2 separate regions of the Homo sapiens genome follow, and region 2 is linked to region 1. The links are contacts of gene promoters, found by promoter capture Hi-C in blood cells and fetal thymus (Javierre and others, 2016). All regions are on one chromosome and are shown on one strand. The core of a region is centred on a gene start or on the middle of the fragment in contact, and the rest is flanking DNA. Distances in the headings are between cores, read along the strand shown. Region 1 holds the start of C1orf216 (chromosome 1 open reading frame 216). Region 2 overlaps SFPQ (splicing factor proline and glutamine rich).

The links. Contacts are between HindIII fragments. The CHiCAGO score rates a contact against its expected background, and 5 or more counts as called.
Region 2: a contact is called between a fragment that was not itself captured here and the fragment with the promoter of C1orf216 in region 1, in 1 of 17 cell types (monocytes). The highest score is 5.6, in monocytes.

What each region holds. Positions count from the first base shown.
Region 1 is chr1:35,713,655-35,721,499 of GRCh38, reverse strand. C1orf216 (chromosome 1 open reading frame 216) reads left to right here and starts at 2,616. Exons shown (of 2, transcript NM_152374.2): 1 at 2,616-2,793; 2 at 5,174-7,623. The coding sequence starts at 5,179. The coding sequence ends at 5,868. It also overlaps a transcript of CLSPN not described here. RefSeq lists silencers at 498-792, 2,455-2,884 and an enhancer at 5,698-5,992. The HindIII fragment of the contact is 2,001 bases long and covers 1,498-3,498 here.
Region 2 is chr1:35,177,363-35,185,207 of GRCh38, reverse strand. SFPQ (splicing factor proline and glutamine rich) reads left to right here. Exons shown (of 10, transcript NM_005066.3): 10 at 615-2,272. The coding sequence ends at 752. Among named protein-coding and RNA genes, the nearest start is that of SFPQ, 12 kb to the left of the region's middle. The HindIII fragment of the contact is 1,769 bases long and covers 3,342-5,110 here.

The DNA of each region.
Region 1 (7,845 bases), core at 1,367-3,866:
AGGAGAATGACTTGAACCTGGGAGGCGGAGGTTGCAGTGAGCTGAGATCGCGCCACTGCACTCCAGCCTGGGTGACAGTGAAACTCTGTCTTGGGAAAAAAACAAAACAAAACATGGTGATAGCATCATGGGAGGAATGTTTCTTCTAACCAAGAAACACAAAGATGATTCCCTGGGATTTCGGCTCCTGGTAGCACTAGAGGAATAGGAGAAGGGGGTGGTCTCAGTGTAGACTGGACTGATCATGGCTACCAAGGAGAAAGGGAGTTACTGTTACCTAATAAGTGTTGAGAGGTGCGTGAATGGAACCCAGAGACCCTGGGGTCACCACCTTGTGCTATTGTAGTAATCAGCATTCTTTCAATTGTCGGTGAAAGAAATTCCACTCAAGTTAGGCTTGGCAAAATAAGGCATACAAAACTATAAGTTTAGATGCAGGAAACAGGGTCTGCAACATTATCAGAACTATCTCTCATCTCTGTTTCTTCCCTGCCTCGTCTTCCTTTAATTTCGTTTCAGAAGATCCCAGAGAAGGACTCTGACTGGCTCACCTGGAGTGGAGCTCCTATCCCTGGATTCTTCAGGCTTTCATTTGACCCACATGGTTAAGCTGGGAGAGACAGAGTCCAAAGAGAGGCGGAGAAGGGCTATTCTGGGCAGAACAAACAATTGATGACTTTATGGCTCTGTGGTCTGGGCAGAACTGCATAACCCTAGATCACCAAAGCTGAGAGCCTTTAGGAGTGAGGATTTGGGCCAGGCATGGTGGCTCACGCCTGTAATCCCAGCACTTTGGGAGGCCGAGGTGGGTGGATCACAAGGTCAGGAGATCAAGACCAACCTGACCAACATGGTGAAACCCCATCTCTACTAAAAATACAAAAATTAGCTGACGTGATGCATGCACCTGTAATCCCAGCTACTCAGGAGGCTGAGGCAGGAGAATCGCTTGAACCCGGGAGGTGGAGGTTGCGGTGAGCCGAGATTGCGCCACTGCACTCCAGCCTAGGCGACAGAGCGAGACTCCATCTCAAAAAAAAAAAAAAAAAAAAAAAAAGTGAGGATTTGGGTCACCCCAGGCTGAAGGCCAGGGGAACCTGAAGTGGATAAGGGAAGGGAGAAGACTTAGGCCACAGGATCTGATGTAGAAATGGGGCTGACGTCTCCACCTGTATTTTCTTAGCTGGAGGAGTGTGCAAAGTTTGAATTACTTCTGCCTTCTCCTTCTTATTTCCTTTTCCCTTTTAAAATAGTCATCATAATCATAAAAATTTCTTTTCCATTTTCCCTGTTTTTGCATATAGGATTTCTTGGTGTGATTTAATTTGCCAATTAGTCTCTAGGTTGCAGAATGGTGACTTGGAATCAAATTGAAACTGGAAGAGGGCACCTCATATATTAGGGTCAGCAATTACTGAACTCTGTTCTCTTTTATTCCAAACAGGGCCCCCAACTTCACATTTCCCCAGGGTGCAAAAGAGTGAGGGGGGTCAAGCTTCAGTAGAGTGGAGCTCTGAGAAGAATCCACTGGAGTTTGGAACCCAAGACCCTTTTTTATCACGCTGTTCCTCCTCACCTGGGCAAAAGCACTGGTACCCACTTCACAGGCATCATGGGTGGGCTCTGTGTCCTGCGGAGAGCCCCCGTCCCGGGTACAGGACATCAGCCCTGAGCCCTGTCCCAGGCTTGGATCTTCTTTCTCTCTCTCTCTTTTTTTTTTTTTTTTTTTTTTTTTTTTTGAGACGGAGTCCCACTCTGTTGCCCAGACTGGAGTGCAGTGGTGCAGTCTTGGCTCACTGCAACCTCCACCTCCCAGGTTCAAGCGATTCTCCTGCCTCAGCCTCCCAAGTAGCTGGGATTACAGGCGCCCGCCACCAAGCCCGGCTAATTTTTGTATTTTTAGTAGAGATGGGGTTTCACCATGTTGGCCAGGCTGGTCTCAAACTCCTGACCTCAGGTTATCTGCCCGCCTCGGCCTCCCAAAGTGCTGGGGTTACAGGCGTGAGCCACCGCACCCGGCCTCAGTGACTTTAGTCAAGTAAGCACAAAAAGGAATATATAATTCCAAATTGTGATAAATGCTATGAAGAAAAGGAATGTGCTCTGACATAAAGGGGGGAACGAACGTGATCTAGGGAGTCAGAGATCTCTCCGAGAAGAGATCTGAAATAGGAGTAAGTCGAGAGGGGGAAGAGAATGCTAGACCGAGGGAACAGTGCGTGCCAAAGCCGCGTGGCGGAAAGGGGCGTGTGGGAGGGTAACTGCGGAGAGGGAGGGTAGAGGACGAAGCCGGAGAGGCAGACGAAGGGCAGGACGCACAGAGCCCCGCGGCTACCGCCTTAGGGGTTGTCCCGGCGGTGGGGAAGCCATTGAGGAGTTTAACGCCGGAAGGTGGTGACTAATCAGATTTCACTTGAAAATGGCACGGTGTCTGCAGCGAGGCTAACTGATGGGAAGGGCCCAGCGAATGCCAATAGGAGAGAGCACCGGACCTGGAAGGCCTGGGTCAACGCGGCCCCGCGCGGGGGCGAAGCGGTTCCGGCGCAGGGGCCTGGCGCGGGGCTCCGCGGAAAACCGAACCGGCCCACGTGGGACCGGTCGCTCCGCCCTGCTGCGCAGACGCCGCCTGACTCCGCAGTCCGGGACTGGGGCTGGGCGCGCTGCCCGGGAGCCCCGCACCCACGCCTGGACCGCGGAGACGCCCAGGCCGAGGAACCCCCAGCCCAGGGACTAGACACCACCAGGGCCGGGCGGAGCCAGAGCCAGACGCGCCGGAGCGGGCGCCTCTACGCCGTGAGTCCGAGTCTGGGGCCCGAGGCGGGGTGGGGCTTGGGGCTCAGCCGCGGGAAGCGGGGAGTCACAGTGGCCTCCTTCGAGGAGACTAGGGAAGGATGGTCTCTGTCTCCTGGGGTGGTCTCCCACTCCCGCAAGGCCAGAAAAGGAGGCTGCCTCCTGTTTGGGCGGAGACCTAGTCCTGGCGTGTCGGGGTTCTCATTTTACTATCTCTGAGAACCCTGTGATCCCTAGCGCCACCCCCACCCCATCCCAGCTTCCTTCACGGCCCCATCCAAGTATAGGAAAAATAAAAAATTGGGGCGAGGGGAGATCTCTAGGCACCTTCCCACAAGCCTTGCTTAGAGGGCGATTAGAAACGAACTGTTCCTACACCCTTCTCCCCAGGACTTCTCTGCCCATTGCTGGGGGTGGGGAGGGTCCATGCCACCTATGGAGCGCCTTCCAGTGCCGGCTCCACTTACAATACCCTTCCTCTTCATGCTCTTCAATTGTTCTAATCCCAGTGCTGTTTGGTCAGTAGAATCCCTTTGTCAGTTCAAATCCTAATTTTGGTTAGAAGCAGGTTATGGAGGAGAGAAGAGTGGTGTGGTATGCCCTCCCTCCAGGGCCTCAGAATGGAGCAAGCTAGGGACGGGGACCGCAAGATAGTGGCTGTGTTCCAGAGGCATTGGGAGGGAAGGGGGCAGGCTCAGAAGAAAAGCTTGTCACTGGGGAAGGCGGGGCTCCCTGGCTGGGGTAGGAAAGGGAACCAAACCCAGCTCTTCCAGAACCCAGCTCTTCCAGCCCTGGGGAGTCAAGAGTGGATTCCTGAGCATGGAAATTCACTGCAGTCTCTTCTCCCATTCACTCACTTAGCAAGTACCTGTATGCACAGACAGCCTGGTTCAGGGCTCTATGCTGGCTGACTCTGGGGAATATGATGGAGGATATATACAGGAGGTCCAAGCCAGATTACAAACTGCTATTACAAGATCATTACCACAAACCAAAAATGCCAGTTGAATAGACATTCACTGATCGTCGACCATGTATGCCAGGGACGGATGCAAAGTTGGATAAGACAGTGTATACCCAGCGCAGTGGGGACCCAGAGGAAGGCATAACTAACCGTGCTTGTTTATGTAATATTGATTGGGGCAGTATCAAGACGGCTTCAGAGACATGGGGACATGGAAACATGGGGATATTACAGCTAATTTTGAAGTACAAAAAGGAATTTGCTGGGTGGAGAAGGGAGGAGCTTTGAGGGGAGGGGAGAGGAAGGATATTGTAGGCCAAAGGAATACTGTAAGAAAAACAATGGTGTGTTTTGAGATCTCTGGGCAGTTTGCTATGATGGGAGGGGCAGAGTGGCAAGAGGCAGGTATGGAGGGGTGAGCAGGGGCCAGATCAAACAGGGTGTTGTAGGCCAGGTAGAGGTTTAGCAGGAATTCAGGGAGGGCATTAGGAGTGGTGACAAGTGAAATTTACATTTTTAACTGGAGGCAGAGAGATCAGTGAAAAGGCCGAGGCAATAATCCAGGTCAGAAATGGCCTGGAAGAGGAAGAATGGTCAGAATGTGGTTATTAATGAGATGGGAGAAGGAAGGATAGTGAGGACCCCAGGATGCTCTCAGCTTTCTGGATGGAGTACAGAGCCATCTTGCTGAGGATACTGAAGGAGAGCTTGTTTGGTTATGTAGAATTTTGGCGGGGGGCGGTGGTGGAGGGGGATGATGTCACTCTGTCACCCAGGCTGGAGTGCAGTGGCGCAATCTCGGCTCACTGAAACCTCTGCCTCCTGGGTTCAAGTGATTCCCCTGCCTCAGCCTCCCAAATAGCTGGGATTACAGGTGCCTGTCACCATGCCTGGCTAATTTTTGTATTTTTAGTAGAGATGGGGTTTCACCATGTTGGCCAGTCTAGTCTCGAACTCCTGACCTCAGGTGATCTGCCTGCCTCGGCCTCCCAAAGTGCTGGGATTACAGGTATGAGCCACCATGCCTGGACTGGTTATGTAGAATTTGAGGAGACTATGGTTGGTTGCAGGGTTGGATAGCAGTTGGATCTGGGCTGAAGACAGATCTGAGAGTCACCAGCATATGATGGTCTTTGAAGCTACAGCAGAGAATGAGGTCCTCTGGAGAGAAATGCACAAAATCAGAAGACAGCCTGGCTCTGAGGACGGAGGAAAAACCCTTTGCAGGAGACTGAGAATGAACAGGTAGACAGGGAGGACGAAAACCACGAAGGGAAGTGTTACCAGAGTCAAGAGAAAGGGCTTGACAGGGAGTGGCCAGGCTCTTGCTTGCAGCCTTGTCCCTGCAGCTAAGTTGCCCTGACTTCAGGCACCCCACCCTGTCCTACTGTGACTCGGTCTCCTGCTTTCCCTTTACAGGCTAGATGTTCGCCATCCAGCCAGGGCTAGCTGAGGGGGGCCAATTCCTGGGGGACCCACCTCCTGGATTATGTCAGCCCGAGCTCCAACCAGACAGCAACTCCAACTTCATGGCAAGTGCCAAGGATGCTAACGAGAATTGGCATGGGATGCCAGGCAGAGTGGAACCTATCCTGAGGAGGAGCTCCTCTGAGTCACCCTCTGACAACCAAGCCTTCCAGGCCCCTGGATCCCCTGAGGAAGGGGTGCGCAGCCCCCCAGAGGGGGCAGAGATTCCCGGGGCTGAGCCTGAGAAGATGGGTGGTGCTGGCACAGTCTGCTCCCCTCTGGAGGACAACGGCTATGCCAGCAGTTCCCTGAGCATTGACAGCCGTAGCAGCAGTCCTGAGCCTGCCTGTGGGACCCCGCGAGGCCCTGGCCCTCCCGATCCCCTTCTGCCCTCAGTGGCCCAGGCTGTGCAGCACTTACAAGTCCAGGAGCGCTACAAAGAGCAGGAGAAGGAAAAGCACCACGTGCACTTGGTGATGTACCGTCGCCTGGCACTGCTCCAGTGGATCCGGGGCCTGCAGCATCAGTTGATTGACCAGCAGGCCCGACTGCAGGAGAGCTTCGACACCATCCTAGACAACCGGAAGGAGCTTATTCGCTGTCTCCAGCAGAGGGCAGCACCATCCAGGCCCCAGGACCAGGCCTAAGGGTGTGCCTCCACAAGTGTGCAAGGGTATATGTATATATTTGCAGGCATGTGTGAGGCGCACTAGTAAGTACATAATTTGCTGGCATGATTGCAGGTAGGCATGAGTGTGTATGTGCTAACATGTAGGCTGGTGTGTGTAGGCATGTGTGAATAAGCATGTATAAATGAGCTTAAGTGTGCTGTGTGCACATGTGTACACACAGCTAATTTATCTGCAGACCTATATGTGAGCATGTAAGAGTGAACATATGTGTGTGTGTGTAGTATGTAAGAATGAGGAACTCGGTATGTGCATGTGTAGACAGGTACCCAGCAGTGTGTGTATATGCGCATGAGTGAGGATGTATAGGCAGAAGATGTGTGTGTCTATGAGTGAGTTTGAGTGTGCAGGCTTGTATTAGGTGTATGTGAGGAAGCCCTTGTGTGTGCAGGGGTGCACATGTTTGGCCACAGGCATGGGAGGTGTATGTTAGGAGCATGTGTGTTTGTAGGCAGACTCATGAGCAGGTGTGTGCAAATACATATCCAGCTGCACTGTGGGTGTCCACCCACACCTTGTGTTCCTCATGGCCTACCCCAGCCTTTCTTCTCCACTGGGTCCCACTGTTCCCTGGAGACAGAGGGCTAGCATGCTGTCATTTATCTGAAGGTTGTGGCTGACCCATTCTCCTGGGATTTCCCAGGCCACCTCTCCTTTCCCTTTCCCTCACTTAACCCAGACTTGCTCAGCTGAGGCTATTGTCCCTGATGTTGGCTTTACTTGTAGGAGGTTTAGTGGCTGCTCTGGCCTGCCATGGAATTTTGGCTGCAATTTTGGCAGTGTGTGGAGAACTGGTATCAGGAAAGGGAACCAGGAGTAGTGATGAAGATGATGGTGGGGATGGGGACAGAGGACATAGGGGACTGTCCCTCTTGAACTCTGCCTTTGGGCACATGGGAGATGGGGACAGGAAAGATGATAACAGTGGAACCCTGTGAAGAATAGGAGAATGGGAATTCTAAAATACCAGTTCCCAAACAAACCATCTCTCCATTGGAAAAGGAGCTGTTGCAAACCGTGTTCATTTAAGCTTCTGATGAAAAGCAATGTATGTTTATAAGCTTGCAAGTAACAGACAAGATGTTCCAAGGCCGATGAGGAAAATATCGCTTCCCTGTCTCTGCCTCTACCTTGCTGTGCCTCTCTGGCTTTAGCAGCATTGGATGTTGAATTGGTTTGGTTCATTTCTCTGAAGTCGGACTGTCAGGAGGAGCCAGAGGTTGGCTTTCTGGGATGTGAAGGGGACAGTGTCAGCCTAAGCCTCTGGAGATGCTTAGGATGCTGAATTTTAACCCCTTCTTTCACTGCATGGCCCTTCAAACAGGGATTGGCAGGCTCCGCGAGTTACAGAGTGGGTGAGTCTTGGAGAGAACCAACGACTAAGGTAGCTTAGCTCTCTGCTTTGTTCTTGGGAGCCAAGAGAATGCAAGATCCTGGTGGGTGAGCAGTGGTATGAAGAGGGGACACTGGTGGGTGAACAGTGGCATGGAAGTCACTGATGCAGCCTCTGGCCCTCAGTCTCCCTATCGGCAAAGTGGGGGGCTCTTCCTATCTCTAAAGAGTTTCATCCCTGACAGGTGGATGGGTGAAAGATCCAGAGAGTGGGGGTGAGGGGTGGGCCCTGAAGACTTTTTGTCTGTAGCTCTTGCATATTGAGTGTATAAACCCGGCTTCTGGACCAACCCAAGATGAATAAACTGGGGCAGAAAATTACATTTCTTGAGTATGTGTTTTTCTTCTACCTGTTGTCTGATGGCCTCTTTTTCATACCATCTGAGCTCCCCTTTTGAGTAGGGTCCTGGACTAGGAGCTAGGGAGGTGGTTTTGGGGAAAGACACTGAAGAATTTAGACTGCTGTGCCTGGCGATCCAATGGGGTGGAGAAGTCTCTCAGGGGCCATCCAGTGTGACAGGGGAGACTTGACTTCTACCCTGA
Region 2 (7,845 bases), core at 2,977-5,476, 540 kb after region 1:
CTGTGCCGGTTAAGTGACTAAATCTATAGTCTTATGCTTTTTCTTTTTGTAGTCTGGTAGCATTTTATTAAAACTTTCAACCTTTTAAGATTTCTGCAACTTAGCAGATGTGTCTTAAGATCTTGAAAAGCACAAGGTTTCTTAAGCAGCACATGCCACTAACTGGTGAGTAGGTCTTTGTCACTTCATTGAGTGAATTGAATCTCTGGTTGGGCTTGTTAGGCTTACTTGGAAATTAAATTTCCGTTCAGACGTTGAAAGTGAGAGTTTGCAAGTTTTTCAGTGGGTTAATCTGATGTGAAATTTCTTAGAACTCATTTTGGAATGGATTTTCACATCTGCACTAATTCTTAAATTTTTTAGCACTACAGGGAAGATCTGTTCTTTGAAACAGGTGTATGAGAATGGCTCAAGTGGGAACATACCACAAGGCATGTATTACCGTAAACTAATTTTCAAATTACCCTTTTTTCCTTTCTATGTTCCCGGTACCTGTGGATCGACTCATTGGTGATTGTATCGACGAACGTTGACTACGGAACCTTCTAAAATATTTACTTAACACACATGGACATCAACTACTTATAATGAACTGTTAATTACTGTTCCAATAGCGTACTGAGCGCTTTGGGCAGGGAGGTGCGGGGCCTGTGGGTGGACAGGGTCCTAGAGGAATGGGGCCTGGAACTCCAGCAGGATATGGTAGAGGGAGAGAAGAGTACGAAGGCCCAAACAAAAAACCCCGATTTTAGATGTGATATTTAGGCTTTCATTCCAGTTTGTTTTGTTTTTTTGTTTAGATACCAATCTTTTAAATTCTTGCATTTTAGTAAGAAAGCTATCTTTTTATGGATGTTAGCAGTTTATTGACCTAATATTTGTAAATGGTCTGTTTGGGCAGGTAAAATTATGTAATGCAGTGTTTGGAACAGGAGAATTTTTTTTTCCTTTTTATTTCTTTATTTTTTCTTTTTTACTGTATAATGTCCCTCAAGTTTATGGCAGTGTACCTTGTGCCACTGAATTTCCAAAGTGTACCAATTTTTTTTTTTTTACTGTGCTTCAAATAAATAGAAAAATAGTTATAATATTGATCTTCAACTTTGCCATTCATGCTTCTATGCATATTAGGCTACGTATTCCACATTGAAAGCATGAGAGTGTCTAGGCCTTTGAATGGCATATGCCATTTCTGGGAAATGCATCTGGAGGCTAAGTATTGCTTTCTACAAATAATTGCCCCCTTTGTTTTAAAAAGAAGAAATGCATATTGAAGTAGTTTGATGATTTGTTTGGCATATAGGAAGCACGCTGGTGCTAAGTATTTTTTAAATGGTTATGTAAGCAAAGCTGAACTGTAAATCTTCAGGAATATGTATTAAGATTGTGGAATGGGTGTAAGACAATTGGTAGGGGGTGAAAGTGGGTTTGATTAAATGGATCTTTTATGGCCCTATGATCTATCCTTTACTTGAAAGCTTTTGAAAAGTGGAAAGGTCATTTTGTTGCATTTCCCCATTTCTTGTTTTTAAAAGACCAACAAATCTCAAGCCCTATAAATGGCTTGTATTGAACTTTTACATTTGAATTAAAGATGTTAAACATGAAGTCTTTTCATGTATTCAAGTGATTTATAAAGATGGGGTGTAGTCTAAAAAACAAAACTTGAAAGTAAGAAGGTTTAGTAACTGGGCCGGGCGCGGTGGCTCACGCCTGTAATCCCAGCACTTTGGGAGGCTGAGGTGGGCAAATCATGAGATCAGGAGTTCAAGACCAGCCTGGCCAACATGGTGAAACCCCGTCTCTACTAAAAATACAAAAAATTAGCTGGGCGTGGTGGCAGGCGCCTGTAATCCCAGCTACTCGGGAGGCTGAGCCAGGAGAATTGCTTGAACCTGGAGATGGAGGTTGCAGTGAGCTGAGACTGCCACTGCACTCCAGCCTGGACAACAGAGCGAGACTCTGTCTCAAAAAAAAAAAAAGGTTTAGTACTGAAGTAGGTTTAGTTATATATACATTTGTACTCTGTAACTTTTACATCTCCTTGTGCTACTTCTGTTGGGCAAAATCTATAGGACTATAAAAATCTATTGGTTCTCTTCTAAGAGCTAGTGGTGATTGTTAACAAATAGGGTTGCAGATAATCATTCTTATTGTAAATTTAACTTGTTTTCACATAGTTTCGTTTTCATGTAGCACTAAATCTGGAGAAAGTTGCTCATGCTACACAGTACAAATATCCCTTCCTCCCACCATAAAGGCTTGGAATGTTTCCATGGTGTTGTCAGTTAATTGTCAACTTCATTGAACCCCCTTCCATTAGAACAAGAGACTTTGACTATTAAAGTAGATTGTTTATTGTTGCCTGTTAGTATAATGGGAGCCTGATTTCCCAGTGTAAATATGTTAGAGGAACAGCTTCCTAACAGTAGGTAAAGTAATTGAATGGTTTGGCTTTGTTCTGAGTTACGTTCCATTCAAATCTGTACATTGTAGAATTCTTACTATGGAATGTGTCTTCCTCCTTTTCACCTCTTTTCTTGGTGCTAATTGGCAAAAGAAAAATTCTAAGTCAAACCTTTATTAACATGCTGAAGTTTAGTATTGTGCCTGTGTACAAAAGGAGACCTATTGTTGGAACAATCTGAGCACTTTCTGCATAGGAAACAGGATAATGCTGAAAGTAAACACTAGTGTATAAAAGCATCTCACCAAATACTGGTTGTATGACTGACAGGTACATGGTGTGCTAAGGGAGAGAATCTCATTAGAAAGTAATGCTCATTATATCATTCACCAGCACACTCGGAAATATGAGTAGTTTTACCATGATTATATCAGTGAGGAAGTTTTGTCCCCAAACAGGTTATTAATTGGTGATACATAAGAGATTTTCTGTACGGAAACAAGGGTCTTGATTAGAAAGGAATCCATTACAGTTTGGTTGAATTATATAGTAGGGACTCTACTAAAGACAAGAAAATAAGGGGTGTTCCATGGGACACCCACAGAGGGTGAACTTTGAATGTGTGTGGGTGGGGGCTGGTCGGGAAATGGGAAAATCTGCCTATAAAATTAATGTTTCAGTTTATTTTTCAGATTACATGCCTTTCTTTATAAGGGATGCTGGCACAGACCCCCTAAAATAAGCTTTTGGTAGTACTGTACCTTTGAAGAGTGGTGAAGGATGCTAATGGATAATCTCCTGAAAGTTGTGGCTTTTGATACCCTTACTGTGGACTGTAGAGTTGCTAAACGTTGTTTAGCAAATAATGTTGCTTAGTTTCAAATGACATTTGACTTTCATCACTAAAACAGCAATGTACTCAGGGTTGTAAGCTTACTCAAATAGACTTTCAATAAGTCTTCAATGTATATATGATAGTTTTTAGCCTAATGTGAATTTAAATAATCTTAATAGTTTCCTAAAAGTCGATCTGAAACTTGGGGTGGGAAAGGGGAGGTAGCAATTTTTGAAGTATTTTAGCCATTTTTTTCATTTAAAGAAACCACTTGTCCCCATTTCCTCTTCTCCACTTTCTCATAATTTTGTTTTAAGAGGAACACTGGTTGTTTTTTATACTTCTCCTAATCTTTAAAAACTGCATATTGTTAAGACCCCAGTGTATTTAATAGGTATTTTATAAGCATAGCCCATTGGCTCATGTTAGTGAAACCATAATCCTCTTTGCTTAGAACATTAAACTCATAAGAAGTACTACAAACCCCACCACTCTTTATAGATGTATTGTACCACTAATATAAACAGCTAAAAAATGGGGAAATTGTAATGTTACGCCTGTGCAATTTTTAAGTGGCATATTATGGCAGATTAAAATTTAGATACTTGGCTTTTCTTGGGCAAGCCACTAAGTTGTGGCGGAATGTTTTCTGGTGTTCTTGGACTGCAATTATGCACTATTAAAGTAGTGGCCTGCTACATAACTGCATTTAGCCAGCATTTCTGCAGTGCGTAACTGTGAGGAACGTAGTACCGCAAATGGCAATGGACATTAGGACCCGGATGTAGTATTCCTGCTTGCTCCAAGATTCTCATTGCCGACTGCATACAGGTAGGTAACAAGCAATATAATCTAACTTGGTGACTTGTATGTACTTTTATTCCGTGGGCATTCTGGCATCACATTTCTGACAATGAAATTACAGTGCAGCACCTAACACTTGTATGGTAAAGCTAGCTTACATCAAAACTGTGTGGGTGTGGGGTTAGAGCTGTAATTTGTCAGGCAGAATTCAGTGCTGTTGCAGTTCTCAGATAAAAAGTGCAAACTTGATTCTTTGGTATATCTGACTCAGTTGTGTGGTTTCCTTTAGTTGCATTGTAACTGAAGATAACATGGAACACATCAGTGGTGTGGGGGAGAGGGAACTAAACTATACTTGGGAACTAGGGTGCTTTTAGCACCTTGACATGGACCGTATAGCATGTGATAATTAGTCTCTATTGTAGCAAACTGACCTGCCCATAGATCGGCAATATCAGTAATTTCATTATGCAATCTTGGTAATTCTACAAGTTGAGTTGAACTAAAAGTACAGGTTTTTTTGTAATGCGATTTAAAATTTTTAAAAACATGGGCTTCATGAAAACACCATTGTTACTAACTTGGGCTTAGATGGGAATCTAATGTGAATAGTTCAAGTTATGGGACTTGTCTAAATGTGTCTATACTCTAAACCTGGGGGAAGGTGGTGTGGAACATTGACTTGACTACAGTCGAATACATGTTGGGAATCATTCCCAATCATAAGACATCGTCGTTTCTGTAGGATGACTGCATATGTTCAGAGTAGCTTTTTGAATTTGGTTCCCTTAGCTTTAGGGATGTGATGTTATAGTCCAAAATGTTTACAAGAAAACCTAAGTCTTCAAAAGCACAACTTTTGTTGCTTAGGACTTTGCATCAACTGTTGTTCCAGACCTCACTTCAACTTCTTGGTCTCTGAACTGGTTTTAGCTAGCATGCATGAGAGACAGTTTTCATGTATAATGTTTCTGCTCTGTAACTGGAAAGTGGTTTACTTTGCATAAATGCTGATGAAAACTTCATGACTATGAGACTTTTCTTCTGTGTATCAAGAAAAAGCTTGCTCGTTGGCAAGCAATTCACAAGGTGGGGACAGACTTGTACTTTAACATGTAGTCCATTCAAGCAAACAACTTTGGACTCTACTGATAGATGAAAGAGCAAATGATGACTAGTTTAGCCTCTGCATATCAACAATATAATGCAGATCAAGTATAATGCTCAATATTAGTGACATGAGTATCACTAAATTACATAGAACCCTGATGGGGTTTCCTGTGTCGTAATCCATTAAATCGGTGGCCAGTGCTTGCTGCCGTGGTTTAGTGATTGGGTGTTAGAAATAAAAACTCAGGTCTATTTCTTACCAGTCAGTAACAATTTTTAGAGAATGTACTTGGTATATAATATATGGACTTCAGGAACTTTATTGGGGTGGGGGGTTAATTTTGCCTTACCCTGTTCACTTTCAGATGATTAGGCTTTTGCACTTTAGAATGAGAAACTTGTGACGTTAGTGTGTTCTTACTAGCTTTAATTTGTATGTAGCAATGAATTGTGAATCTTAGTGCAGTGGGTTTTTTTAAAAAACTCAAAAAGCTGGGAATTAAGTGGTTTCAGTAATAATGCTATACCGAGGTGCTTGCATTGTATTTCATAATTTTGTTACAAACCAAAATTATTTTTAATGAGAACAGTCTTGGGTTCAGAGGTGTGATGCCAGAATGTATTTTCGTACTGTTAGGCCCTTGGAACAGATACCGGTGCTTTCTGAAAGATGAAAGAAATGCAATGGGTGCTCTTCATGCAAGGTTGCAAACCTACCAAGAATGCATAATAGTCTCACTTTTCCCCAATAAAGAGATGCGTGTGACTAGTTTTGGACTTTTAACCTTAATGGGGGTTGCATGTCTCCTATTGTTAATCATTGTCAGCTGCAGTGACATGATCCACAGTCCTGCATTTACTGCCTTTCACTTAATGATTTTGGACAGGTTTTAGAGAGCCAGGATGTTGGTCTGGGCCTTTATTTGGTTTTGGCTTTAGCTGATAATGTTTTAGTGATGTCAGCTAGTGCAGTTCTCAAATGGCTGCCTATTAGGGAAAGAATTCAGAGGATTTGACTGCTCCTAATCATCTGTCATTGCTGCTAGATAATGATTGGCAATTTTTAAGACTCAACTGGAAATCTCAACAGTTGCTGGTAAACCATTAACCATAAAAACGTTGCTTTTGAACACCAGTGCTGAAAAAAATATTTTTTTTTTTTTTTTTGAGAGTGAAAAGGGCTTGGACTTAAGATAGGACAATGTGGAGAATGGGGGGAAGAATGCAAAACGATATAGTATCCCTTATGGATGGTACATGTGCAACAGGGAACTCTTACTTCATATACCCTTTGCAGTAATCATTCAGGGAGGAAGAAAAACCTGGAACTTGAATGAAGGCTGATCTTTGTTTTGTGCACTGTGGCCCTGCCAGGCATATAGTGAAGGTGAATGTCTTCTCCCTCAGAAAAAAATTGGTTCCTTGCTGTCCCAGTAAGGCATAGCTTTTCCAGCCCTAACTTTAAAACTCAGTGAGGACTTAGATGGGAAAGAATGAGGTAAATACAAAGGATTGCAGGACAACAACTACAGCGTTGTGTACTGTGGGAAGGGGAGTTGGGCACTCTTGGAGGACTCCTGCTGAAGGTGGTCAGCCTGCCTGACAATGGAAGACATACTTGAATGGGGAGCAGGGTATGTGCTTTCATATGAAAAAAGAGCTGATGTTAAAACTCATTTGGTGAGGTCAACGTTGTCACATACCTTCACATAAGGGATAGTATATTTTGGGTTGCAGTCAAACTTGTGCTCAGACTGGTGAAACTGAGAGTCAGGCTTTTACATTTTAAAGAAAATACAGTTTTCATTCTAATTCAGGTGTCTACTTATTTTATGTAAGAATAATTTTAGATTTCCCCCCCACCATGAAGTTTCTTCCTATTTTTTTATGCTGTAACTTACCCCCAATCTTTATCTCTGGATTTTTACTCTTTAAATTTTGAAGTTGACTAGCATTTTCAAACCTTTATTTTATACCCTTGTCTTTTATATTAACTTTTTCTTATTATTCTTTAGGTAAGAATGATTGATGTTGGCTGATATTGGAGTGCTCATTCACATGAAGTAAGTTTCCTTTAGAAATCTTAACCCCTACAGGCTTTTGAGTTTGATTTAAATAATTTCATTTAGATATGTGGAGTGAAACTTCGATATTTGAGATGTTTACCGTTTCTAAGATAATATCCCTTTATTTTTGTTTGGAAATTAGGGATGTATGTGAGAAAGCAAGTGAGAGGCATTATAAAAATGTCAAACAATAGAATTTTTAAAAAGTGGATGGTTATATAACGGTCATAGAAGAACAGAAAAGAAAACTTGACTTAAGGGGAATAGGCCATATTGTCAATATTCAATTCAATTTTAGACTCCATCTAAAACTCCATGATTCTTTTTTTACTTAAGAAAATGTAGGAGAAGGTCAGGCATGGTGGCTTTACACCTATATTCCTAGCACTTTGGGAGGCAGAAGTGGGAGGATTGCTTGAGCCCAGCCTGGGCAAAATAGTGAGACCATGTCTCTACAGAAAAAAATATAGCCAGGTGTGGTGGTGTGTGCCTGTGGTCCCAGCTCCCTTGGAGGCTGAGGTGGGAGGGATCGCTTGATCCTGGGAGGTTGAGGCTGCAGTGAGCAAGTTAACATTTTTTGTTACAGGTGGATAGATACTTCTCAAGACATCACACAGCGTGAG